Regions from separate parts of the Homo sapiens genome. Here all the other regions are linked to region 3. Evidence: promoter capture Hi-C in human tissues and cell types (Jung and others, 2019). All regions are on one chromosome and are shown on one strand. The core of a region is centred on a gene start or on the middle of the fragment in contact, and the rest is flanking DNA. Distances in the headings are between cores, read along the strand shown. Region 1 has its middle 46 kb from the start of TNRC6B-DT. Region 2 overlaps FAM83F (family with sequence similarity 83 member F). Region 3 holds the start of APOBEC3B (apolipoprotein B mRNA editing enzyme catalytic subunit 3B). Region 4 has its middle 9.5 kb from the start of TNRC6B-DT.

Region 1 (7,099 bases), core at 4,513-7,012, 1.1 Mb before region 3:
AGGAAACGGAGAAGTTAAACAACACAGTTCACTAGCAGTACAGCTCAAACTATCTGACTCCAAAGTTTAAGCTCTTAACAACTGTCCTAACTGAAAGCTCAAAAATACTCTTCTACTTTTCTCCATTCATAATAAAAATGGTTTTTATTTCAAAATGCTTTTGTTTTGCCCTCATTCTTGACAGATGGTTACTTTTCTTCCAGCACTTTGACGATGAATTGTCTTGTGGCTTCCACTGTCACTGAAAAGTCAGCTATCAGTCTGCAGTCTGCTTTTTCTCTCAGGACTGTACTAGGATCTTGAATTTGCCAATGTATCCAGGTGATATTTCTCTTTCTTTACCCTGCTTGAGCTTCCTGATTCAGACGATTTAGTTATTTCATCAATTTTGGAAAATGTCTTCAAATACTGCCTCTCCCCCAGTGCTTCTATTCTCCTAGAACTTTGATCAGATGTTATATGAAACCTTCTAATTCTATCTTCCATGCATCTTAACCTTTCTTTAACATTTTCTCTGTCTCTATGGGTTTTATGTGGACAATTTCTTTAGCTTTATCTTCTAGTTCAGTAAGTCCTGCTTCACTTGTGTCTAATTTGCTTTAAGATTAGACTTGTCTACTAAATGCCAAATTCAATGATGTTGTTTGCTTCTGAAATGGTTATTTTTTCATTCTTATTTTCTTAATTGATAAAAATTGTATTTATCATGCACAGCATGTTTTCAAGTAGGTATAAACTGTGGATGGCTAAACTGATGAAATGGTTCTTTTTCAAATATATCTGATTATTATTATTTTAGCTAGTCAAATACCTCTATAGTGGCATACACCAGTTGCAAAACCCATCCTTGACACACAGGACTTTTGGCCTGATTATTCCTGATAGTCTCAGTTGCCATCTTACACCTTAAAGTTAATTGGCAGCATTCTTTCATTTACAATTTACAATATCTAATTACATTTACATTACACTTACAGTATCTGTTTTTAGCCAGGCATGGCGGTCTGCACCTCTAATCCCAGATACTCTGGAAGCTAAGGCGAGAGGGTCATTTGAAGACCAGAGGCCGGCATTTGAGACCAGCCCAGGACACAGAGCAAGACCTTGCCCCTAAAAAAGTACTAAAAAATTAGCCAGGCATGGTGGTGCATACCTATAGTTCTGGCCACTTGGGAGGCTGAAGTGGGAGGATCACTTGAGCCCAGGAGTTTGAGGCGGCAGTGAACTATGATTTCACCACTGTACTTCAGTCTGGGTAACATAGCAACAACCCATCTCTAATTAATTAATCACCAAAACCATAAAAAAACACAATTTCCTTAAAATATTAAATATACTTATTCTATGTTCAGTTTCCAATAATTACAATATTATAGACTTTTCAAATCTGTTTTTTTTTTTTTGAGACAGAGTCTTGCTCTGTTGCCCAGGCTGGAGTGCAGTGGTAGATCTCAGCTCACTGTAACCTCTGCCTCCCAGGTTCAAATGATTCTCCCACCTCAGCCTCCCAAGCAGCTGGGATTACAGGCACATACCACCATGACCAGCTAATTTTTGTATTTTTAGTAGAGATGGGGTTTCTCCATGTTGGCTAGGCTGGTCTCGAACCCCTGACCTCAAGTGATCCAGCTGCCTCGGCCTCCCAAAGTGTTGGGATTACAGGCGTGAGCCAACACGCCTGGCCTCAAATCTGATCATTTTTGTTGGTTCTGCTGACTCATTCACTGTAGCTCAGTGTTTTGAGTGTTTTGTGACTCTTCATTTTCGACTTCTGAATAATTTTATTTGTGAGACATATTTGAGTCCTAAGTAAGGTGTATTTTTCTCCTGAGAAGATTTATGTTTCTCTGGCAGGTTCCTGGAGGCACTACTAACCCAAGAACAATTTAAATTTTACACTGCACAGATAGTATGAATTCAAGTCTCACACCCATACACGGGCCAGTTTGTGGTTATAAATTCTCAAGGAAAGTTTTTTTTTAAGTTTCATTATAAAAAATGCTAGACACAGAAGTAGACAATAATATAATGAACGTTCAAGTTCCCATCGTCAGCTTAAATAGTTAACTCCCGGCCAACACTCTTTCACCTGTATCCCTTATTGGTATCCCTGCCTTCACATTAGTTTTAATGCAAGGACATTTCATTGATAAATACACTGGTAAATACCTATCTCTAATATATTTTTAAAAACCGTTAAAAATTTATAATACCATCATTACACTTTAAAAACATTAGTAACAGTCCCAATACCATCAAGTAATCAGCCAGTATTCAAACTTCCAACTGTCTCGTAAATGTCACACAAGACTTTGCTTTGCTGTGCTTTTTTTTTTTCTTTGCAATTTATTTGTTGAAGACCCCAGAGCTTCACATAATCTGGATTTTTCCAACTGTACCCGATGGTGGTACTAATATGCTGCTCTGTCCTCTGTAATTCTTATAAATTACTATATAGCTCTAGAAGCCAGATCTGTTTGTATAGGAAAGGGATGGTATATGGTTAATGTAGTGTTAGCAAGTGGTATCCAATAGCTTTTTTAAAAAATATCATCATGCTTTGGGAGGCTGAGGCGGGCGGATCACGAGGTCAGGAGATCGAGACCATCCTGGCTAACACGGTGAAACCCTGTCTCTACTAAAATAAAAAAAAAAATTATGCGGGTGTGGTGGCGGGCGCCTGTAGTCCCAGCTATTCAGGAGGCTGAGGCAGGAGAATGGCGTGAACCCGGGAGGCGAAGCTTGCAGTGAGCCAAGATCGTGCTACTGCACTCCAGCCTGGGCGAGAGAGTGAGACTCCGTCTCAAAAAAATAAAAAAAACTTTATTGGTATTCAGATTGTCTCATCATTGGATGAAGAGAGTCTTCTCTTGTATGTTCTTTGGTTCTTTTGATGTGATCCTGATCACAGTCTTTTATGACTTCCTTGTTACGTGGTGTAGCCGGTTCCTGTATCAGTGATTTCTCCAAATAACCCTGCTTCCTGTTAGTGAGAATTGGTATTCCAAGACCACAATTTGGGGACTAGGGTTACACATTGCTACTGGTCACTGTTTATAGGATTTTTCAATTGAATGGGTTAGGAGGTGTTTTTTGTCTAAGATAAAATATATCAATAATTCATACCACAACTTGTAATTCAAAATTAAGTTAATCGAGAGAATGAGAAGATAAGTCAAAGACTGGGAGAAAATACAAAGATACATCTGATAAAGGACTGTTATCCAAAATATACAAAGAATTCTTAAAACTCAGCAATAAAAAATAAACAACCTGATTAAAAATGGTAAAAGACCTGAGCAGACACCTCACTGAAGAAGATATACAGATGGCAAATAAGGATACGAAAAGATACTCAACATCATATGTCATTAGGGAACTACAAATTTAAAAAAAAAAAAAACAATGAGATGCCACTACACACCCATTAGATGCCCAAAATGCAGAACACTGACACCACCTAATGCTGGTAACGACATGGAGAAACAGGAATGCTCCTTCATTGCTGGTGGGAATGCAAAACCGTATGGCCACTTTGCAAGACAAGTTTGGTAGTTTCTCACAAAACTAAACTTACTCTTACCATTCAATCCAGAAATTGTGCTCCTTGACATTTGGTCAAATGAGGTGAAAACTTATGTTCACACAAAAACCCACACATGGTGTTTGCAGCCGCTTTATTTTTATTTACTGAAACTTGGAAGCAACTAAGATGGCCTTCAATAGGTGAATGGATAAACTAGAGTACATCCAGGCAATGGAATATTATTCATGCTAAAATGAAATGAGCTATCAAGCCATGAAAAGATGTGAAAAAACCCTAAAATACATACTACCAAGTGAAAGAAGCCATCATGAAAAGGCTATGTGATTCCAACTACATAACATCTGGAAAAGAAAAATCTACGGAGACAGTAAAAAGATCAGTGGTTGCCAGAAGACAGGGAGATGGAGGGATGACTAGGTGGAGCAGAGAAGATTGAGAGCACTGAAACCACTTTGCATGATTCTATGATGGATACATGCCATCATACATTTGTCCAAACCCATAGAATGTGCAACACCAAGAGCGGACCCTAATGCAAATGAACTTTGAGTAATAATGGTGTACCAACATAAGTTCATCATTTATAACAAATAGACCTTTCTGGTGTGGGATGTGACACTGCGGGAGGCTGGCAGGGACACAGAACAGGCAAATATGATAACTCTATACTTTCTGCTTAATTTTACTGTGACCCTAAAACTGCCAATTAAAAAAAAAAGTCTTAACGCTGGGCGCAGTGGCTCACGCCTGTAATCCCAGCAATTTAGGAGGCTGAGGCGGGTGGATTATTTGAGGTCAGGAGTTCACAACCAGCCTGGCCAACATGGTGAAGCCCCATCTCTACTAAAAATAAAAAAATTAGCTGGGTGTGGTAGTGTGTGCCTGTAATCCCAGCTACCGGGGAGGCTGAGGCAAGAGAATCGCTTGAACACGGGAGGCGGAGGTTGCAGTGAGCCAAGATCACACCAATGCGCTCCAGCCTGGGTGACAAAGTGAGATTTCATCTCAAAAAAAAGAAAAAAAAAGTCTATGAAGAAATCAAGTTAACAGGGTTTTATTTAACCTCTTTTATTTTATATTTGTATCTCCTTTCACCCATGTTGGGAATCTGGATCTCAAAACAGTGGAAATTATAAAGTACCACATAATTACTCATTTGTTTTTTTCTGACAATATACACTCAACAACAATCTCAAAATAGTACTAACAAGATCACTGGTATGTTCCACATGAGTACAGTTGAAGGACTTTGTTGTTGTTGCTACTGTTTGTTGCAGTTCTTTTTTCACTCTCAGGGCATATACCCACTAAGAATGTAAAGTTCGAATTAGTGAGGTTTAAAATTTAGGTTTACTTGTTTCTCATTTTCCATTTAAAAAAGCTATCAACCATATTTAAGGCAGTCTAGCTTCTCTCCCTGTCCCCTCTACCCTATTTCCTTCCTCCTTCTCTCATAATTTTTAAGCTTGTATGATTTATTCTTCCATTAAAAAAATATAAATTGGCTGGGCAAGGTGGCTCACACAGGTAATCCCAGCACTTCAGGAGGCCAAGGTGGGTGGATCACCTGAGGTCAGGAGTTAGAGACCAGCCTGACCAACATGGTGAAGCCCCGTCTCTACTAAAACACACACACACACACACACACACACACACACACACACACACACACAAAAGTAGCCGCCGGGCATGGTGGCAGGTGCCTATAATCCCAGCTACTCAGGAGGCTGAGGCAGGAGAATTGCTGGAATCTAGGAGGCGGAGGTTGCAGTAAGCTGAGACTGCACCACTGCACTCCAGCCTGGGCAACAGTGTGAGACTCTGTCTCAAAAACAACAACAACAACAAAGAAAACAAAATAAATAAGTTGCAGATACTGAGATCAAAATATGTAGAAGCTCTTGCATTCATAGTAAGTGGAAGAACAGAGCACAAACACCACTGGGTCTGTAGTCAGAAGGCCCGCTGTCCAGTTCCTGCTTCACCACCTATTAGCTGGCCTTGAGGAACTACCTAATTTTTCAGAGCTTCAGTCTCTTTTCTGTATGATGTGAAAAATAGTAAATATCCACCTTATAAGGTCGCTGTGAGGATGAGACGAGATAGGAAAGTCTTTTAAAGGTACAACTTTTTATGAGTTCATCCTTGGAGTGAAGGTTTCTGAAGATTAGCCAAAAATAATTCCGTTTATTAAAAGTTTCTTTCACTCTTAAGTACAAGGTAAGCAGGAATAATTTTAAAAATATTTCTTTATTAACAAAGGACCCTCGAGAAATAGGAGAGAAAAGCTGAACTCAGAGTTCCCAGCATCTCCCAGGAGGACCAAGAGGTCCTGAAAAGTATTATGTCTGGTCTCTAGTCTGGGTCACCAAACGCTGTACATCTGTAACGGAGATGGAGGCCAACAGCAGCCTCTGTGATGAGGGCCCTGCCTACATCTCCAGCTCCTCTCCTAATTCCCTGCCTCCCTCTCAGTCTCCAGCCTCACTAGCATTCCCAGGTCCCCCAAGGCTTCAAGCTCTTTCCTCCCTCAGGACCTTCACACATAGCTAGCCCCTTTGCTTGAAGGCTCTGGACCCAATGATCACCTGGCCAATGCCTACTTTTCCTTTAAATCTTTGCTTAAATGTTACTTTGTCAGAAAGGCCTTTCTGTCCTCTCAGACTAAGCCAGGCTCCCCCCAGTTAATCACTCTTACAGCTCCCTGTATTTTTCCTAAAATGCACTTACCAGTGTTTGGAATTACATATATAATTGTCTTTCTCCCACTAGAAAATGGTCAGTTTAGCATGTGTGTTTCTTATTTCTTTATTCTCATTTCCTAGTACCATGCCTGGTATTACTCTGGTGCTCAGTATGTGTCAAATGAATAACTGAATTAATGAAAAGCTTAACATATCATGTATAAAATGGCTGAATTAGATCCTGAACACTGGGAAAGAAGGCAGGACCAAGTTGTTACATACTGAAAAAAATTTCTACATTCCAGAGTCTTCCCATAAGGGGGCAATATTCCATTCTCCTCTAACTTGATTCATAATTTAAATATACAATCATTCTAATGATATATTTCCATCTCTTATCTATAATGAGTTTTTATGATAAAAATATCCAGAAACACATTACTTACACCAAACACAAAACTAAGCTTTTCACTACTGATGCAGTATAAGCTGAGGATATATAATAAAGCAAAATTTTCCAAACACAACACCAGGCCCTCCTAAAAATGCCAGGAAGAAGGCTTGTGTCTGTGAGAGGGGAGCCTACAGGGACGGGGGACCTGGAGATAAAAAAAAGACTTAAGAAATACATCAAACAAATGCTATAATGATAATCTTTAAACACTGCCTGGTTTTTATGTAGCTGGAAATATGAAAAGCTTATTAGCATCTCTCTTCACTGGACATGATGAACAAAGTATGGCAGAGAGAGGACAATCAATTTTAAAGGGGAGTTAAGGCTTCATTTTATTTCTATCTAAAACCTTTGTTTTCCTTTTTCTCTAACGACAAACGAAAACACTCCATATTTCATAGAAGAAAAAATTGA
Region 2 (6,505 bases), core at 2,553-5,052, 1.0 Mb before region 3:
ATGCCCCAGACGCAGCAAGAGCAAGAGAGAGATCTGAGACCTGCGGCCCCAAGGGATGACACAGGAGAACAAGTCCCCCAATCCAGCGGCCCAGCAGCCACAGCTCTACAGAGCCAGACCACACTGCCAGCCAGGGGGCCAACCACACATAAATCCAGGGACCCCAGGAGAGTTCTGGAAAGGGACTGTCACTGCAGGTCACCTCAGAGAAACTGGGAAGCAAAGCACAGGCCCAGGGACTCTGGGGCAGGAAAGGACCCCGAGGCACTCTGGGAAGCAAGTTGCTGCTGTCATCTTCCTCTCGGCCCCCACAACACCGTGGGAAAGGGCTGGTCCTCTATTTGGGGCTCTGGTTCTTCCGAACAGTTTTTTGTTTTGTTTTGTTTTGTTTTTTGAGACAGATTCCTACTGTGTCACCCAGGCTGGAGTGCAGTGGTGTGATCTCCACTCACTGCAACCTCCACCTCCCGGGTTCAAGAGATTCTCCTGTTTCAGCCTCCCGAGTAGCTGGGACTACAGGCAAGTGCCACCATGCCTGGCTAATTTTTTGTATTTTTAGTAGAGACAGGATTTCACCGTGTTAGCCAGGATGATCTCGATCTCCTGACCTCATGATCTGCCCACCTAGGCCTCCAAAAGTGCTGGGATTACAGGCATGAGCCACCACGCCGGGCCCAAACAGTCTTTAAAGGTGCAGGGAAACGGTGCCGATCCTAGCCTTCTGGAGATGGCCATGATATCTGCAGAAGGCTGGGGAGGCAGGAGATCACACTGCCCTTTCTCCCTGGGCAGCCACGGACACAGGGCCTGGCCTCTCTGAACCTTGGGGGTCTCATTGTGAGATGCTGTCATCAGGCAGGATGGCAGCGAGGAGGACGCCAGTTCCATGTGATGGAGTATGGCACCATGTCTCTCGCCACTTCAAAAGTGTTGGCCATTTCCCAGTCATCTCCCTGGGGGAACTGGGTGGGGTCTCAGGCACAGCACAGGGATCTCCTCCCCTAGGCTGGCAGCACTCAAAGGGCAGGGCCTCATCTGTGTTTCCTCAGTCGCCACGGAGTCGGCTGGTCTGAGGACCCTCTGCACTGGGGAGCTACACTGGAAAATGAGGGCCCTAATTTAAAATGCAGATTCCTAAGCCCTGCCCAGTGGTACAGACTCTATTTGTTGGATTTTATTTTTATCTTTAAAAATTCTATTATTATTATTTTGAGATGGAGTCTCGCTCTGTCACCCAGGCTGGTGTGATCTCAGCTCACTGCAGCCTCTGCCTCCTGGGTTCAAGTGATTCTCCTGCTTCAGCCTCCCAAGTAGCTGGGATTATAGGCACCTCCCACCATGCCCAGCTAATTTTTGTATTTTCAGTAGAGACAGGGTTTCACCATGTTGGCCAGGCTGGTCTCGAACTCCTGACCTCAGGTGATCCACCTGCCTCGGCCTCTCCAAGCGTATTTGTTGCATTTTAAAATTTGTATTTACTTTTGCTTTTATTTTTTTGAGACAGGGTCTCTCTGTCGTCCAGACTGGAGTGCAGTGGCACAATCACAGCTGACTGCAGCCTCGACTTCCCAGGCTCAAGTGATCCTCCTGCCTCCACCTCCCAAGTAGCTGGGACTACAGGCACACGGCACTACCCCCAGCTAATTAAATTTTTTTTTAAGAGATGGGGACTTGCTATGTTGCCCAGGCTAGTCTGGAACTCCTGGGCTCAAGGGATCTTCCCAGCTCAGCCTCCCAAAGCACTGGGATTACAGGCATGAGCCACCGCGCCTGGCCTCGTTGCATGTTTACCAAGGCTCTCCACTGAGGCTGCTCTGTGAGTTTGGGGGTCCCTGACCCAGGGAGCCTGTGCGGAGGGCACAGAAGCTCCAGAATAAGGGATGAACACTCCCAGCAGGAGGCGAGGGCGGAGGGAAGACGTAGAAGAGGCGCCTAGCTTCTGCCACTAGAGTGCGCCGTGAGCCTTGAAACCGCTGGGCACCCCTGGCCCCCAGCTGGATCCCCAGCCGGAAAGGAGGAAGCAACTTCCCTAAGGTTCTCCCAAGGGCCACACCTGGGTTTGCAAAAATTTGCATGCTGTTTGACAACTATATACTCCTTATCAAGCAATTTTACAGGCTGTCAGCTCTGAGCTTTTTCTATTTTTTCTCTTATGACAGAAACTGTCATCAACTCAGGTTCTCCCTTGACAAGAGGGCAGCAGAGACAGAAAGAACAGAGGCAGAATCTGAACTCCAGGGGACCTCGGAAACCCTCAATGGTGCACTCCCCCACCTTCTAGATGAGAACACAGCCCCAGGGAGGGGACGGATGTGTCCTGGGTACAGGGAGCAATGTGTCCCGAATTGAGAGCCAGGTGGCAGCTGCTCTGGGAGGTTCTGAACATTTACCAGGGGAAGGGGACACTTTCCCTGCATGGGGGCCCAAAGGCAGGAGCTCAGGTTCTCACTGATTCCCACGGTGGGTGCCCCATGCTGTCAGGGGCCCACCTTCTCACACATGCAGTCCTGGCTGCTTAGCTGCTGCTGCCTGAGGGGAGACACTGAAGCAGCCCCACTTGGCCATGGTGTGGGAAGCTGGAGGCCGTGAAAAAGGGCCTCTTAGGAGAGGAGCTCCTGGCCAGGCGCGGTGGCTTGTGCCTATAATCCCAGCGCTTTGGGAGGCCCAGAGGTAGGAGGATCACTTGAGGCCAGGAGACCAGCCTGGGCAACATGATGAGACCCTGTCTATACAAACAATTTAAAAAATTAGCCAGGCATGGTGGCACACACCTGTGAGCCCAGCTACTCAGGAGGCTGAGGTGGGAGAATCGCTTGAACCGAGGAGGTTGAGGTTGCAATGAGCTGTGGTCGCACCACTGCACTCCAGCGAGACATTGTCTTAAAAACAAACAAAACCAGCAAAAGACAGGAGAGGAGCTGCTGCTTCTCCCTCAGGCCTTGGGAGGGAGAGGAAAGGTGCGTGAATTTCAGGACTGCAGGTACTGGGCGCCCACCCAGGTGGGCAGAAGCCTTACCGGAGGAGGCTGCTCTGTGTTCGTCTAAAGGACGGACAAGGAACGGGATGATGGTTCCGGGCATCCCCGGACCTTCCTGGCTGTCCGTGCCCTCGCCCTCACTATTCCCTCTCTCTCTCTATCCCAGCATCAGGTGCCCTGGAGAGGAGCTTCCCAAGGGTACCGTCTGTGTCTGCAAGGCTGGCTCCTGGGCACCATGTGCAGACACCAGAGAGCGGCAGCAGGGGCAGGGCCGCCGTGACCACCCGAGATGTGGGAGCAGGGACATGGATGTGGAGGGACACGCAGAAGGCAGCGGGAAGGGACAAGACAATGGGCTTTGAGTTTCCATGGAAACTGCATCTCAGGGCGAGGGGCTGAAGGAAGAGAAAGCTTCCACTCCACTTCAGTCAGGACTCGGGAAATAGTCCTTGCTGCTGTCGGCTCGCCCCCTCCTTCCCCTCTTCCACCTCCTTCCCCTCTTCCCCTCGCTCCCTTGCCAGGTGTTCACCATGGCAACCCTTCCTCCAAACCAGAGGTACAGAGCAGGAGCAGCAGCAGCAGCAGCAGCTGGTGTTAGGGGAGCCAGGGAGCCCAGGAGGAATGGGGATGGGGCCAGCCACCCCTCCCCTGACAGAACATGGCTGTGCCCATGCCTGGTCTTGAATCCTGGCCTTACTACCACTTCCTGTGACCTGGGACCACTTCATTCACCTCTCCGAGCCATCTGCCACCTCTGTGCTTGAAGGGTGGTTGTGGGGGCAGAAGGGGAGAGAGAGTGCCTGTGCAGGACCTGGCAAGCCAGCAGCTCAGTCAACGTCTCCAGGCCAAACAGAAGGAACGCCCTGACACTCCCACTGTGCCCACAGCCACAGAGGCGCCCAGGCCTGTTCCAACTCCAAGAAGCAAAGTTAGCCAACATTTCCTGAGCACAGAATGTGTCAGACTCCAAAGCAGTGCTGGGGAATTAGCAGAGGGGATGACACTTGTGCTCCCTGCTCTCACACCATCACAATCCGGTTAAAGCTGGTGTGCAGGAATGCAGGAGTCCTGGAAGCCCTTGGGCCGGGCACACAAGACCTCAGGCCCTGCCATCGCCCACCTGGCCAGCCAGAGCCCAGTTCTCATCACTGGGCTCCACAGCGATGGAGGGAGAAACCCCACCATGGAAAGTCCCCTGACTCAGGGATGCAGAGATGAGAAAGGCACCGCCACCAGCCACCTGAAAGGCCACCCCAGAGACTGCTGCAGAGAGAGACATAAAGTCCAGGGCCTCCTGGGGATCCCAGAGAGATGCCCAGAAAGACGCTGCCATGGAACAATCCCACCCAGGGACAAGCAGCTGGGCAGACAGCACTCAGCAGAGGGACGTGGAGAAACCAAGTCGGACTGCCCGTCACAGAGACAGGAAACTGGGTCAGGGCACCAGTAGGGTACAGGGGAGGGTGGGGTGTGTCTAACCAGGTGAGATCCTGACAATAGGTGATCTGGCAAGGGAAAAGGTTTGCTAGAAAGAGCCCTCAACTCAGAGCCAGGGTCGAGCTGCAGCCATGCACCCCACTGTGCAGAGCCCCCGTTTCTTCACTTACAAAGGAGAAAGTTTCTCAGCTTATTTGATTTGTTGGGTTACCATGAGGGCTGATCTGAATGCCTTCTAGCAGTAGCATTAGAAGCTCTGAGACCCCTCCATGCCAAGCCTGGAATCCTTCTCTTTTTTCAGAGAAGAGGAAAATGAAACTCAGAGCTGCAGGACTTGCCCAAGGCCTCCAGGCAGCTAATGGCCGGGGCCAGAATGGGAACCAAGGACCCCGGAACCCCAGAGCTCCTGCCCTCTCTGTGCCCACAGATGGAATCTACTCCTCTGCAGGTATGAGGCAGTGCTCCTGGATAAGAGCCGATGCGGGGCGAGGGCCAGAGGCCTGGGGAGGCACCAGGCCAGAGGGAAGAGGGCTCACCTGAGATGTCAGCACTGGAATTCTCGTTGGGCCTCTTCCCCGTCAGAAACTCCACTTCAGAGGTCTCGGTGGAGACAGAGCTGGCCATGCCATTGGGCGCCGCAGGCCTCTTGGCTCGGCGACTGAAGAGCCTGCTGCTGAAGCGCCTGGCGGGGGCGGCCTCCCCCCGGGCCGCTTCTCCCATGCCGTTTCGGCTGGGTGCCTCTCGGGATTTGGGCTTCAGGTCTCTGTGCATGTGAGAGACCATCCTGCCATCCTTCTGGCTCAGCTCTCCCAAGGGGATGGGCTCCACGGGGGGCAGCACCTGCTCCACCGTAACCAGGTCTTTCAGGAAGCTCTCCAGGCGCCAGGCCGACTCGCCACCGCTGGCGCCCTCCTCCTGCCCCTCCGGGTTGCCGCCCGCCTCCCGCTGTTGCCGGGCAGCCCAGCGCATCATCTCCCCAGGCGGGTGGCGGCAGCCTGACACCAAGGCGTACTTGGGGTTGATAAGCTTTCGAGCCACAGTGGAGGAGTAATGGAGGCCAACCCTGCCCGCCAGGCTCAGCTGCCGGTACAAGTCCACCTCCTCGGAGATGGCGTACAGCTCCCGGAACTCCGTGTCAAAGGGCTCTACGTTCTGTCCTGTCAGGAGCAGGAGGAGGTTTCTGTCCACATGGGAGGAACTCCAGGTGAACCTGGGAACGTGGGGACAGAAAAGCAAGACACATGTGCCCAGGCCTCTCTCTTGCCCTGCCCCCGCCCCCACCTGCCCCTCCGCTGTGGCCAGACCCTTGCTGCAGGTGTACGGCTCCTTGTGGGCCACACGCTGGACTGATTCCCTCCACCCACCCGTAGCCTCCCTTTCCCCAGAGCTTGGCCTCAAATGAAGCAAGCAGGCAGTGGGTGCAGGGAAAGAGCATGGGAAGTCAGGCCTGCATTTAAACCTGGTTTATATTCTCATGTGCCTTGTAAGCTGGGGCTCCCAGGACATATGTTCACAGGGTTGTTGTGAGGCACAAATGAAGTAACTCATATAAAACATTTAGCTCAGTCCCTGGCACAAACACACATTTAAAAAATAGTAACTGCAGCTGCCACTATTATGAATATTATTCTACTCTGTATTGGTTCTTTTCTGATTTTTTTAAGCACTTAGTGTCTGCAGAAACCCATACTCTGACCATGTGACAGGACTTACCCTGCTATTCACTGTTTCATGTGCTCAGCTCTCTCTTCTCGTCACCTATATTTTAATTTACTTGGAGGGCAGAGATTACACAGATACAGTCTCTCGTGTTCCTGCTAAATTATTTTAAAATCAGAATTCTGAGGCCAGGCTCACACCTGTAATCTCAGCATTTTGGGAGGCTGAGGCGGGCGGATCACTTGAGGTCAAAAGTTCGAGACCAGCCTGGCCAACATGGTGAAACCCCTTCTCTACTAAAAATACAAAAATTAGCTGAGCATGGTGGTAGGCACCTGTAATCCCGGCTACTAGGGAGGCTGAGGCAGGAGAATCGCTTGAATCCGGGAGGCAGAGGTTGCAGTGAGCCGAGATCATGCCACTGCAGTCCAG
Region 3 (7,377 bases), core at 4,809-7,308:
AGTAGATGCTCATTTAAAGACAAGTGAAGAGAATCCCCTCTCCAACTGTCTTCACTGGCTGGGGCACAGCATCATTATCCACTGGGATTTTCAGGCTCCCTGTGCATCTGCCCCAGGAGGTGGAAGGAGACCTGGAATTGGTACCATTGGAGGAGAGACCAGCACTGGGACCAAAACTGGGAACCTAGAGCAAGAGGCCAGGTCCAGAGAGAGGGTCAGGAGGAAAAGAGAGGCCCCAGGGGTTTGAGGGTGAGAGGTGAGTGCTCATCAGAAAAGCTCGAAGAGGAGTTCTTGTCTCCTTTTTAGTGTGTGGGGACTGGAAACACTTGTGCTTCAGTCCTGAGTCCTGGGTGTTTCCGTGACCAGCACTGCTGTCCCTCCCGGGTTCAAGCGATTCTCCTGCTTCAGCCTCCCAAGTAGCTGGGATTACCGGCTCCCGCTACCATGCCTGGCTCATTTTTTGTATTTTCAGTAGAGAGGAGGTTTTGCCACGCTGGCCAGGCAGATCTCCAACTCCTGACCTCAAGTGATCCACCCACCTCAGCCTCCCAAAGAGCTAGGATTATAGGCATAAGCCACCGTGCCCTGCCTAAAATAAGAGCATTTCTCCTGATCATATGTTTTCCTACACTCCATGTTGCAGGTGTCATTCTAAAAGGTGAATGGTGCTCACGGAGGAGGAGCCTGTGTCTGGGGTCGTGTGCATCCTCCTCTGCTCACAGCGGAGGCGTCTTTGGAAGAAATGACTTATTTTCTGGTACAGAGACCATTTCCTCCCCCACACCCTCTCCTAAGACTTTGTGTTGAAACAAAGTAAATCTTACAGAAATTCCATCAAAATGCTAAGAACAAAATGCCTGATTGCTCCAATCATCCTTTGGTTCAATTCTCCCAGTTCCAGAGCTCAGGAATGGTGGGAAGCATATACAGGGAGCACCCTCCCAGGGCAGGGAGCACCAGCCCAGCGGTGACTTTCAGGGAAGAGTCTCAGCAGGGGGTCTGGCCTGGGGCAGGTGGGGGAGGTGGCCCATTCAGAAGCAGCAGTGGGGCGACCACACAACAGGGCAAAGAGCCTGGCTGGGAGTGGGGGTGGCAGAGGAACAGGAGGGGAGAGAGCCCAGGGCTGGGGCTGGGACAGGGGGAGGCCAGGGCTGAGGCCCAGCAGGACCACCAGGCAGGAAAGGGCAGCAGAGGCCCCATGGGCAGAGCGGGCAGTGGTCCCTGATCTGGGGCTTCATGTGCAGCCTCCCTGGCAGGCTTGTCTTGGCCCTGATGTTAGTCCTGGGTTTGGATTCTATTTCTATCTTCCAGGGCCCTTGTTCCAGGAGACACCTGCGCTGTGAGTGACCTCCCAGGCCCATCTGAGTGCAAGCCTCACTTTATGCTGCTTTCTCACCTGGATGGGAGGACATCTGGAGGGACCCCTGGATCCTGCCCTCAGGAATCATCCCAGGGACCCCCCCCGTCCCCAGCCACCCAGCAGCTATGTGGTAGTGAGGGAGAGTCAGGGGCAGGTGTCTGCCTTCCCCCATGCCTTCACACTCAGAGGCCACCATTGGAGGGAGGAATAGCGGGTGGGGGTGGCCCTCAGATGTCCCCCCAGGATGCCATGGGTGCCCCCACACTGAGCTCCTTCCTTCCACATCTCCTGCCCAGAGTTGTTCCCTGGAAGGCTGAGCTCTTGCCTCCTCTTGTCCCCATGTCACAGAAGGGCAGCGGCTGGTGTCCCAGGCCACCCTGTCTTGCTGTTTGTTCCTCTAGTCCAAGACCCAGGTGCCTTAGAGGCAGAAGGGGCCTCTTACTCACAGGAAGGGCCCAGGAAAGCAGGGAGGAGGCAGTGTGGAGGGAGCACCAGGAGTTAAGGGAAGGTGGTGTGACCATGAGGGCAGGCAGTGGGTCAAGAGGGAGGGCGGGAGGGCCAGGCCAACGGAGGCCTCAGGAGGATGAGCAGGTGAGAGGAGAGAGATGATGAGGCCAGAGGGAGACCCTCACCTGAGAATCTCCTTTAGCGTGCGGTGCAGGAATGCATAATTTTCATCGAATTTGTACCAAGGCATGAATTGCTGACCTTCATTGTACACAAAGTTTTCCCAGCAGTATGCAAATTCTGAGATGAAGAAGCGGGAAGCAGTCAGGCTCTCCCCTGACCCTGGCCTGTCCTCCCAGGCCTGGTCTCCTGGCTGTCAGTTGCAGTCAGTGCCAGTCCCACCCCTGCAGGCTGCCCTGGGACACCCCCAGCCATGGCATTGCAGATCCATCCATCTTTCATGCTGTTCCTCCCGCTCACGCTCCCCTGACCCCTCCACCTCTCACCTTCATAGTCCATGATCGTCACGCGGGCTCCTGCCTGACTCAGCCTGCAGAGCGCCCTTCGGTAATCTCTTTCCCAGTAGTAGTAGAGGCGGGCGGCAGAGATGGTCAGGGTGACATTGGGGTGCTCAGACAGGAATTCGGCCAGCTTCGCCACACAGTCCGGGCAGGGGGTCCAGGATACAAACCAGGTGATCTGGAAACACTTGTAAGCAGGCAGCTGGTTGCCACAGAACCAAGAGAGGAAGCACATTTCTGCGTGGTACTGAGGCTTGAAATACACCTGGGAGAGGAGCAGGGGGCAGGGGATGCTCTGAGAGGGGGAGCAGGAGGAGTGCAGGGGTGGGGCAGGGAGAGGAGGGGCCAGGACAGGAGCCCAGGGGATCTTGCCATTGAAGCTCCTTTCCTCCATCCCCCCTGTTTAGTTTGAGTGATTGTCTGCTCCAAAGCTCACGTTCAGTGTTAATGGCTATTGTAATGGCCTTAAGAGGTGGCACCTAGAAGAGGCTATGAGGCTGTGGGGACTGCACCTTTGTGGGTGCCACTGCTGTGGTTATTCAAGGGTGACTTCAGCCCCTCTTTCTGTCTCTTGCCCTCTATCTGGAAGGGCAGTGTGTCAGACTAAACTCCTGCTTCCTCTTGTCCCCGTGGCATGGAGCAGCTGTGACTCGACATCCCAGGCCACTCTGTCTGGAGCATCCCCTGAGCTTGTGGCAACAACCTTCACCCTCATGTGACTGTTCAGCTCACAGGCTGAGGCAGGAGAATCACTTGAACCTGGCAGGTGGAAGTTGAGAGTGAGTCATTGCACTCCAGCCCAGGCAACAAAGAGTGAAACTCAGTCTTAAAAAAAAACCAAAACAAAACAAAACAAAAAAACAGAACTGTGGGAAGTGGCCAGGTGCGGTGACTCATGCTTGTAACCCCAGCACTTTGGGAGGCCAAGGCAGGTGACTCACCTGAGGTCAGGAATTCCCCAGCCTGGCCAACATGGTGAAACCCAGTCTCAACTAAAAATAGAAAAAATTAACTGGGCGTGGTGGCAGCCTTCTGTAATCCCAGCTATTCGGGAGGCTAAGGCCGAAGAATCACTTGAACCTGAGAGGTGGAGGTTGTAGTGAGCCAAGATTGTGCAATTGCACTCCAACCTGGGTGCCAGAGCGAGACTCCATCTCGGAAAAAAAAAAAAAAAAAAAAAAGGAAAAAAAGAGAAAAAAGAAATGTGGGAAAAATACACAATTGAGAGCCCAGTGCTGGGCATTTTACTTATTGTTGTGTTTTCTGCATTTCCAGCTGCTTAGGTCCTACTGTAGCAAGGGTTAAAAAGAAAAGAAGAACAAGTTTTCCTCTGCCTAGCCAGCTCACTCCAACGACAGTTATAACACTGCCTGAAAAGTCAAGGCCAAAGGAATGGGCTCCAGACACCACCCCCACACCCCTCCAGGGCAAGGTTGAAGAAAATTTTAAAAAAATTTTTTAAAAAAAAGACAAATTCCTTTACTGTCTCTCCTTTCCAGAACCATTATAACTATATTTTACAAATGTCTGTATTTAGCCAGTTCCTGTTTTCCTTTTGATGTAGCTGCAAGGCCACCAGCTATAGAAGGCCCCAAGTTATGCTAAGTCATCTGTTATGCTATAGATTATGTGACCTGTCACTGTTTGATTAATCGCCTTTGTTCTGCTTCTGTAAGTTTGCTTATAAATACCTCAGTCTGTCTTTGTTAAGGGCTCAGCCTTTTTGGATGTGAGTCTGCTGAACCAGTGCACCTAAATAAATCCTCCTGTCTCACCCATATCAGTCTCTCCAGTCCTCTAATTCCTGCAACACTGCCTGTGATTCGATTGAAGTTTGGGTGGTACCTGGCCTCGAAAGACCCCTGTGTCCCAAAGGAGATTTGAGCGGCCCCTCTTTATTTTCACTTCATAGCACAGCCAAGTGTAGCTCCGACCATAGAGGATGGGTTCGTTTTCAAAGTTGTCGTAGAATGTGTCTCGATACATCCGCTCCATCGGATTTCTGAAGGCACAAGAGAGAAACCGGCCCATGCAGGGAGCCCTCCCGGGAGTCCTCGGGGCTCATGTCCACTGAACACAGCTCCCAGGATGGCCCTGGGCCTCCCCGACCCCTCCACAGCCCTGAGAATTTCTGCTGCCTTCCCAGGCAGGAAGACTGAGGGGAGAGGAAGAGGAGGGGATGCTGGCAGGCGGGCTGGGGTGATCTCTCCCAGCTCGGGTCCAACTCTGGCCTTTCCAGGGGTACATTCCCCACCCTCCTAGTATTTCTGCCAACCCACTCCCCAACCCATTAGGAGAATGCAAAAGAGAATAAAACCCTTCACCCCTAAAAAATAGCTTTTAACCTTTCAGCTCAATTCCTTCCTGATGTTTCACTCTGCGTGTTAACATTATTTTAAAATCATGGTAGAACTGAATTCTGAGGCCCAGGCCACTCTTCTAAGTGCTGAGCGGGTGTGAGCTCACGTGAGGCTACCCTAGGCCTGCAGGGGCCATTCCCATCTTACAGAGGAGATGCCAGAGGCACAGAGAGGCGGGGTAACCTGCCGAGGCCACAGAGCTGGGGACGGATGGAGCAGGGGCCCCTTTCCAGGCCAGCCCTGTCCAGCCTCTGCATCACGGATCCTGTAGGAGAAAGCTGTTGGGGACTGGGCTCTCTTTTCACTAAATTTTAAAATCAGAGCATTTCTCCTCATCATTGCACTTTTTTCCCACATTCTCACATTCCATGTTACTGATCATGTTCTTTCTTTTTTTTTTTGATGAAGTCTCACTCTGTCGCCCAGGCTGGAGTGCAGTGGCATGATCTCAGCTCACTGCAACCTCCACCTCCCAGGTTCAAGCAATTCTCCTGCCTAAACCTCCTGAGTATCTGGGACTAGAGATGCGCCACCATGCCTGGCTAATTTTTGTATGTTTTTTAGTAGAGACGGGGTTTCACCATATGGGCCAGGTTGGTCTCAAACTCCCGACCTCATGATCCGCCCGCCTTGGCCTCCCAAAGTGTTGGGATTACAAGTGTGAGCCACCACGCTCAACCACTGGTCATGTTCTAAAAGATGAAGAGTGACCTTGGAGTGGAACCTGTCTGGGGACATCTGCTCACCATGGAGTCATCCTTGGATGACACGATTTATCATGTGCTTCAGAGACCATTCCTACCCCCGCACCCTCTCCTAAGACTTTGTATTTAAGCAAAGTAATTCTTACAGAAATTTCATCAAAACACTGAGAACAAAAATGCCTGATTGCTCCAATTACCCTTTGGTTCAATTCTCCCAGTTTCTGAGCTCAGGAGTGGCAGGAAGCACACAGAGGGAGCACCCTCCCAGGGCGGGGAGCACCAGTCCGGGCATGACTTTAAGGGAGAGTCTCAGCACGGGGCCTGGGCTGGTGCAGGTAGGGGAGGCAGCCCATTCAGAAGCAGCAGTGGGGTGACCACACAGCAGGACAAAGAGCCTGACTGGGATTCGTGTGGCAGGGGAGCCAGAGGGGAGGGAGCCCAGGGCTGGGGCAGGGGCGGGGGGAGGCCAGGGTTGAGGCCCAGCAGGACCACCAGGCAGGAAGGGGCAGGAGGGGCCCAGCAGGCAGAGTGGGCAGCGGTACCTGATCTGTGGATTCATGTTCAGCCTCTTAGATACGCTTGTCCCTGTCCCGCTCTTTTTTTGAAGCTCTGTGGTTTCACTTCCTGCTTACAGCGTCCTTGCAGTTGGACAGCCCTCCTTAAAGTGACCTCCCAGGGCCTTATGAGTCATGGCCCCTCCCCATTCCTGCTCAGGCATTGGTGTGGGAGGCCCCGGGGTGCTTCATGTTTCTCTGGCTCTGGCTCTGGCTCTGGTTTTCCCCGGACCCTTCCCGCTGGCAGAGGAACCTCCAATAAAGACAGGCTGCTCTGTCTTTATCTGTCCTGGGCAGGACCCAACGGAATTGCAAAGAGAAAGAGAAAGGCATTGCAGCCTGAGCCTGGGAGGCGGGTCCAGACCCAGCTGAGAGAGGGGCAGGTGCCCCGTTGCCTGGTGGTTGGGCAGGCTGGAGCCCCCTCTCCACCACCCCCTCCCCAGCCCTAATGTGTGCCCAGAGCTTTGAGCAGCACCACCCTGTTGAGTGAGGGGAGGTTTTGAGACTCCAGTGGGGAAGGAAGTGTGGACTCCGCACAGCACAAGGGAAGGCTTAGGTGTGCCTCGAGTTCCCAGCTGTGTGCTGGGTCCATGGCATGCGTCCCCTCTTCCAACCTCCCAGCTTCCAGAAGGTGGGGGGCAGGTCAGCCCCTCAGAGGGACTGCGATGTCTGCGACACCAAGGAAGGGAGAAGGGTGTCTATAAACAGGCTCACTGCCCAGGGACCTCTCAAGGGGTTCTTTGTGGGCCAAGAAAACGGGAAACACATACACACACAGCTTTCTGATTATTTAAGTCCATCTAAGCATATTTTGGAGGAATGAATGTACATTGAAATAATCTTCCTAAATAGATTCCTTTAAGGGGAGTTTGTTCCAGCTGGAGAAGTTGTGCTCTCTGTAGAGGCTCTGAACTCCTCTGGCTACGACGACGGGAATGCAGACAGGGAGGAGGATGCGTGGGTGGTAGGGGGAGCAGCAGCGCCCCTACCTGCACAGAAGCTTGTCCAACCTCTGCACAAAGCGGACTCCCAGTGGTTGTTTTTGGAAGGTGAGTTTTCTTTTCTTTCTTTTTTTTTTTTTAAATCTTCCCCAGTATAAATCTTTTAATTTAAAAGTAAATTTTATTGTCGAAAATGCAAACTTGGGGAGGGCAGAAAGATCACACACAGGGCTGTCACTTCACACCTGGGGGGTTGCTGGGAGCCGTCCAGAAGCGCTCCTCACTTCCCAGACGGTGCGGGGGCCGTCCAGAGGCGCTCCTCACTTCCCAGACGGTGCGGGGGCTGGGCAGAGGCGCTCCTTACTTCCCAGACGGTGGGACAGCCAGGCAGAGGCGCTCCTCTGGAAGGTGAAGTTTTCTGTTGCCGTCAGAAAGAGATGGACAAAGGATAAGACCATCGGTGGAAAATAAACAGTTCCGTTTATCAGAA
Region 4 (6,966 bases), core at 339-2,838, 1.1 Mb before region 3:
CAGCACTTTGGGAGGCTGCGGATCACCTGAGGTCAGGAGTTTGAGACCAGCCTGACCAACATGGAGAAATCCTGTCTCTACTAAAAATACAAAATTAGCCGGGCGTGGTGGCACACGCCTGTGATCCCAGCTACTCGGGAGGCTGAGGCAGGAGAATCACTTGAACCCAGGAGGCGGAGGTTGCGACGAGCCGAGATGGTGCCATTGTACTCCAGCCTGGGCAACAAGAGCGAAACTCTGTCTCAAAAAAAAAAAAAAAAAACCTGGCATATTTTCAATGTACACATTTAATAAATCAACACCTTTAGGAAAAAAATTCAATGTAACTGTACTATTCACAAGAGGATTAATAAACATGTTCCCTTGTCATAAACCACAGATAGTGTTACCTGGTAAGAAGTTTAAAGGTATAATCAGTATCATCTTTCAATCCTGTGACTTTATCTCGACTGTTTACACCTACTATGTGCAAACCATTCTAGTGGGTGCCATGACAAAACAAAGTAGCATAAACTCATTTTGAGCTCAAGGTATCCAAGATGAGAACCCATGACGACTTCTTACTCTGTTGAGATACTACAAGGAACTTCCAATGAATATAGTCTACCTGTGCCCATGGGAGGAATCTGGTGGCCTTGCCCCATCAAATCTGCTACCATCTCTATTCAAGCAACTTCCATTTTTCTTTCTCCGCTGGGTGCTTCCTGTATATCTTTTAATAGATTATAGATTTTTCTTTCTTTTTTTTTTTTTTTTTGAGACAGGGTGTCACTCTGTCTCTCAGGCTGGAGTGTAGTGATGCAATCCTAGCTCACCGCAGCCTCCAACTCCTGGGCTCATGCAATCCTCCTGCCTCAGCCTTTTGAGTAGCTAGGACTACAGGCATGTGCCATCATGCTCAGTTGATGTTTAAAACATTTTTTGTAGAGATGGGGGTCTCACTATGTTGCTCAAGCTGGTCTCGAACTCCTGGCCTCAAGTGATCCTCTTACTCTGGCTTCCCAAAGTGCTGGGATTACAGGCATGAGCCACTGCACCCAGCCTGATTTTCTATCTTACTTAAAGGTGTTGCCTTCTCAACCTCGTCCTGCTTCCATTTTTCTCTGTCCTTTCTCTTCCAAACATCTTAAACTAAACTGCATTCATTACTACCATTCTCCCTATCATCACTTAGCTCCTTAGCCCTTTGTTATGTAGATCAAATACATACACAGAACTTGCAGAAATCGGCATTACCGTAAGTCAATTAACATCTTGTGAGTGTAATCAGCACTACCAGAGCATAATCACTTCTTCCCATTTGAAAAATATCAAGCTCTGAATATGCAAAGCTGAGAAACATTAGTTTAGCCAACAAGGTATGGACATCCTGCAACTGAAAGCAACTTAGCGGAAATAGAATGGAAGATGGCTAGAGATGGGGTGGATGGGGAAAGGAGACACTACTTAAGAGTAACAGGGAGAGAAAAATGGATAGGAGGAGACAGAAAAGGAAAGAGACATTGAAAACAAATAGGAGTAAATGAAGGAAAATGGGCTACATTTTTATCCAATTAATCTCCCTTTTTCAAATCTGGTTGAGAATTAAATTAGATTAATGTTAGCTCAGTGAACCACTTGGAGACTTGGAGATATGTAAAGACCTTCAAGCTGTAGGAACTGTCTTTCCCAGAACATATACCAGAGGCCCTTCTGGGTAGTCCTCTTTTCTGATTTCCTCTCTTTCACTGGTTCAGTGTCTGATCCATTTGAGATGGTATCAGCACTCACCTCAGGTGATCTAGAAGTCACTTCCTTTACACTCTCTGCTCCTACAGATAAGCTTAAATGAGTCACCACTTTCTAATTCCACCTAACATCATTTGCATGGTTATAGGTACACCACTGAAGCAAGTATATTAACTAGAAGTGACAAGTGCCGTTGTGGTTTATGATTATCTTCTCTGAATGGTACTCTATGCCTTTATGAATTCAAACATACAGATTCAGATCATTATTCTAAGGTCATTTCCTGTCCTAAACTGCAGTGGAGTAAGAGGCTGAGTCTGACATATCATGGTTCAACTGTAAGTCAGCTATTAGCCCTGTACCCTAATGCCAGCCTTGTAAAGCATACCGCTGTGCCGGTCATCTTCTCCACATACTAAAAACGCTCCCCCATGCCTCTACACAGGCTGTTCTCTCTGCCGGAAATGCCCTTTTCCTCCACAACTTAGTGTGAGTGTCACCTTCCCTGGGAAGGCTTTCTCAACCTCCCCATCGTGTTGATGACCTTCCTTTTCATCCCCGCAGCACCTCTTGTACTGTCTATTACAGCACTTATTACACTAAATGGCACTCATCTGTGTCCACATCTGTCTCACCCACCTGGCTGTGCATTCCTTGGGAACAAAGATCTCCTTTCGCCCCACCTCTGTAGTCCTGGCTCCTAGCACAGCATTCAGCATGTCTATGCATTCAAATGTTTAGTGAGAGCGTCATCATGTCAAGCCCAAGCATAATTTCTTTTCTTTTTTTGGAGACGGAGTCTTGTTCTGTCACCCAGGCTGGAGCTTAATGGTGCAATCTCAGCTCACTGCAACCTCTGCCTCCCGGGCTCAAGCAACCTTCCTGTATCAGCCTCCCGAGTAGCTGGGACTACTGGCGCGCACTACTACAACCAGCTAATTTTTTTTTTTTTTGTAGAGATGGGTTTCACCATGTCACCCAGGCTGGTCTCGAACTCCTGGACTCAAGTGACCTGCCTGCCTTGGCCTCCCAAAGTGCTGGCATTACATGCATGAGCCACCAAGCTTTGCCTAAAATGAGGTTTTTTAGAAATTCTATTTTAAATTCTCTTTCTTAACTTCATTTGAAAAAATATTTATTGAGGACCTACTATGTGCAACTCACAGTGCTAGATGTTGGTGACACAAATGTGAATAAAACAGAGTATTTTTATTCATGTAGCTATTTTCCAGAAGGGGAAATATAATATACAAATTAAATAATTATACAATTGATATCTTCTAATGTGGGGCGGGGTGATTAGGAAGTCATTAAAGAGGAGACACACACACTGAGCTCAGGATTGAAGAGGCATTAACTAAGGTTGGGCCTGCGGGCTTCCAGCTGTGAGAATAGTATGCTCAAGGAAGGGACCTTGGGTAGTGAAGAACACACATTTCCGGAACTTGAAGAGGGTCAGTATGGTGAGAGTACACTCAGCAAGGGGGAAGACAGTAGGAAAAGAGGCAGGGGACGCTGGCAGAAGCTTCACTGGGCAGTCAGTGAAAAAGGCAAGAACAAGAATTCAGGTTCTTATCAGGGTCTTTAGGCCTCACTGACAGTTTTGTTTTTGAGACAGGGTCTCACTCTGTCACCCACACTGGAGTGTGGTGGCGCAATCTCGGCTGACTGCAACCTCTGCCTCCAGGCTCAAGCTAGCCTCCCACCTCAGCCTCCTGAGTAGCTGGGACTACAGGCAGGCACCACCACGCCCAGCTAATTTTTGTATTTTTTGCAGAGACAGGGTTTTGCTATGTTGCCCAGGCTGGTCTTGACCTCCTGAGCTCAAGATATTCACCCACCTCAGCTTCCCAAAGTGCTGGGATTACAGGCACGAGCCTGTGCACCCAGTTATTAACAGTTTTAAGTAGGGGAGAAATATGATCAGATTTACACTTGCTTTTTAAGTAAATGTTTTAAATTAAGATATACACAGAACACATCTGTAGTTTTAAAAGATTATTCTCACTACAGTTTCAACAATTCTCTGAAGTAGAGAAGTTCCTACTTGCAAAAGAAAAAACTAAGACTCTGCAAAGCTAAGTAACTTACTTCAAGTTATTTATTTAACAAACATTTGAGTGTCTACGATATGACAGACACAGTACAGTATGTGCCTAGGGATGCAAAGATGACTACAATAGTCTCACTTAAGAAATTTGCAATCCAGCAGGAGAGACAGATTAAGAAACATGATATAATGTAGTCTATGTCAGAAATGAGTAAAGTCTAAGAGAACAGAGAGAAATTCAATCTTCCTAGGAAGAATTAACCATTTCACCTGTGTGTTAAAGGGGTATTTTTTTTTCCATACTGTAGTTTTTGAATTTTCAGTCATTCCTGCGCTTGGCACCCAGTATGCACTCAAGCAAATGTCAGCAATACAAATGAATCCAGGACTTTTGACTCCTAATTCAGAGACTCTCCAACTCTGCCCGAATTCTGGAAGACTTGCATTAATTACAATAATTATGGAACTATTTTGGAGCTCTACTTTTGAAGCTGCTTTCGGAGCCTGTTTATAAACCACAAAGAAAGTCAGTCTTATTAAAACTGTCAAACTTCATTAATGACCCAACCTGAAAATCCATAACAATATCTAAACATAGTTTTTTTTTTTTTTTTTTAAAGAAAATCTCCAAACACATCGAGTGGTATATGTTAAATACCTAAAGCTTTTAGTATGTCAGTCATACCTCAATAAGGTGGTTTGGGGGAAAAAGAAAGCACAAATCGACATTCAGAGGATGGTGAAATGCTCCCATGAAGACAACCAAGCAAATATACCATATACACCTTCGTAATTCATGATCTCTGTACTCAAAGGACTTACATTTCAGTTTCTAACTAGAAAGACAAAGCATAGCACATAAAAAGAATAAAAGAGAATAGAAGGTAACATTTGTTCATTTATTTAAAACATTTACACACTGCCTACTACTACACAACTGGTCAGAAACTGTTCTAGGGATACAAAGCGGGTAAGATAAATGCCTGCCTTCAAGAAACTCAGTCCTATGGGGAAGTCAACAATACACAGGCCAGACATGGTGGCTCACGCCTGTAATCCCAGCACTTTGGGAGGCTAAGGCAGGCAGATTGCTTGAGCCTGGGAGATCCAGACCAGCCTGGGCAACATAGTGAGACCTCATCTCTACAAAACATGAGCCAGGTGTGGAGGTGCGTGTCTGTAGTTCCAGCTGTTCAGGAGGCTGAGGTGGGAGGACTGCTTGAGCCCAGGAGATGGAGGTTGCAATGAGCCATGTTTATGCCACTGCACTCCGGCCTGGGTGACAGAGTAAGACCCTGCCTCAACAAAAAAAAAAAAAAAAAAAAAAAAAAATACAATACACAGCGTTGCTATTAAGCAGGTACACACAAATGAGAACACTGAGGCTGTGTACAGCTGCCATCAATTCTAATTCATCAGACACCGATTCTTATTGGTTCATGCTTTATCTGTTGTTAAATATTGTAATATTACCTCTGATTATAACGCAAATTGGTAAAGACCGTAAGTAATCACTATATGAAAAAAACAATGACACCAAAAAAATTGTTAAAAGTTTTCAGAGAATATGACGAGAACTTAAATTTTAATCTTAGGGTCCCCCTTTGATCTTGGGGTCCCCTTGTGTTTCTTGGCAAGGAAGGTTGGCACATTTGGATAAGGAAGCTGGTTCTAGGTGAGGGGAATAGTAGCCAAAAGACCAGTGGCTGGAAGTACCCAGGTATGGCCCTTCAACTATGTGGAGAGCATGGTTTAGAGTTGTGCTGTCCAACATGGTAGCCACTAGCCACATGTGGCTACTGAGCACTTGAAATGTGGTTACTCTGAACTGAGATGTCTATGAGCGAAAAATACACTCCAGATTTCAAAGGCTTAACTAGAAAAAAGAATGTAAAGTATCTCATTAATAATTTTTACCAATTACCTATTTAAATGTTAATATTTTGGATATACTGAAGTCAATAAAATGCTATAAAAATCAATTTCACCCCTTTCTACTTTTTTAATGTAGCTACTAGAAAATCTATACATATGTGGCTCATATTTGTGGCTTACATTCTATTTCTATTGGACAGTGCTAGTCCAGAAACTTTAAATAACAAGCTAAAGCATTTAAACCCTCTAGGCAATGAAACACCATTGAAGGCTTTCAAACTGTAGTGCCTGTGGTCGATTTGGGAGGGAGCAGGAAACATAAACAAAGCACTGTTTCAGGAAGATCAGTGTGGGGGCAATCTGTAGGGGTGAGACACTGGAGGCAGTTGTCAATGTCAACAGGCTGCAAAATGTCAAAGGGTAAGTAGGCTCAGCTGGAAAGTATACAACGTCTTTAGAAGCCCCATGCTGGGTGGAGGGAGGAGTAAGAAATCAAGAGCAGGTTGAAATACGGAAGAATAACAGCTGCAAGTGCTGACCCCAGCCTGGACAACCAAGGTGCAATACTTGTGGGACTTAGTGAGCTTAGCACAGTTTAGTTTAGATCTAGTCTGGCTTAGTGATAAGGGATTCCATGCAGAGGTACAATTCAGAACAGGATTGGTGTCCTCTTCAGCAATTTTGGAATCTATCTCACTGTGGCAAGACTTCCAACAGTGAGATCAAGTCCCAGAGGAGACACTGAGGACGTAGGCAAGGCTACCAGAAACTACAGGATAGGCTGGGTGCGGTGGCTCACGCCTGTAATCCCAGCACTTTGGGAGGCTGAGGCAGGTGGATCACAAGGTCAGGAGTCCAAGACCAGCCTGGCTAATATGGTGAAACCCCATCTTTACTAAAAATACAAAAATTAGCCAGGTGTGGTGGTGCGCACCTGTAGTCCTAGCTACTCGAGAGGCTGAGGCAGAAGAATTGCTTGAACCCAGGAGGCAGACGTTGCAGTGAGCCGAGATCACGCCACTACACTCCAGCCTGGGCAACAGAGCGAGACTCTGTCTCAAAAAAAAAAAAAACCCAAAAACAAAAAAACTACAGGACAGCAATAAATAACAAAAGCAAAAGCCCAGACTTACAACACAGCCTACAAATATTTACTGGAAGTCTGTTGTATGCCTGACACTTGGCCAGGCTCTGGAGATACACTGAGATTCAGGACCAAAACAGACATGGTCCTGAATCATGAATTGTGGTGACAGCTATGAAAAAATAACAGGAGCTCTGCCAGTCTTAACTGAGGGTGGATGGGGGTAGTG

Evidence for each region. The method cuts DNA at HindIII sites, captures the fragments that hold promoters and counts their contacts. A contact is called where the count stands out against the background at its distance.
Region 1: a fragment that was not itself captured here is called in contact with the fragment with the promoter of APOBEC3B in region 3 in 1 of the 25 tissues and cell types used here (dorsolateral prefrontal cortex).
Region 2: a fragment that was not itself captured here is called in contact with the fragment with the promoter of APOBEC3B in region 3 in 1 of the 25 tissues and cell types used here (dorsolateral prefrontal cortex).
Region 4: a fragment that was not itself captured here is called in contact with the fragment with the promoter of APOBEC3B in region 3 in 1 of the 25 tissues and cell types used here (dorsolateral prefrontal cortex).

What each region holds. Positions count from the first base shown.
Region 1 is chr22:40,086,706-40,093,804 of GRCh38, reverse strand. It overlaps a transcript of TNRC6B not described here. Among named protein-coding and RNA genes, the nearest start is that of TNRC6B-DT, 46 kb to the right of the region's middle. The HindIII fragment of the contact is 3,769 bases long and covers 3,878-7,099 here.
Region 2 is chr22:40,020,409-40,026,913 of GRCh38, reverse strand. It overlaps FAM83F (family with sequence similarity 83 member F), which reads right to left. Exons shown (of 5, transcript NM_138435.4): 4 at 4,951-5,624. Among named protein-coding and RNA genes, the nearest start is that of TNRC6B-DT, 21 kb to the left of the region's middle. RefSeq lists enhancers at 1,745-1,814, 3,233-3,733, 3,734-4,234. The HindIII fragment of the contact is 7,125 bases long and covers 240-6,505 here.
Region 3 is chr22:38,981,028-38,988,404 of GRCh38, reverse strand. APOBEC3B (apolipoprotein B mRNA editing enzyme catalytic subunit 3B) reads right to left here and starts at 6,058. Exons shown (of 8, transcript NM_004900.5): 1 at 5,935-6,058; 2 at 4,174-4,330; 3 at 2,314-2,593; 4 at 1,993-2,107. The coding sequence starts at 5,951. RefSeq lists silencers at 1,715-1,910, 5,875-5,924 and enhancers at 3,145-3,434, 2,477-3,676. The HindIII fragment of the contact is 18,696 bases long and covers 1-7,377 here.
Region 4 is chr22:40,050,589-40,057,554 of GRCh38, reverse strand. It overlaps a transcript of TNRC6B not described here. Among named protein-coding and RNA genes, the nearest start is that of TNRC6B-DT, 9.5 kb to the right of the region's middle. The HindIII fragment of the contact is 4,520 bases long and covers 1-3,848 here.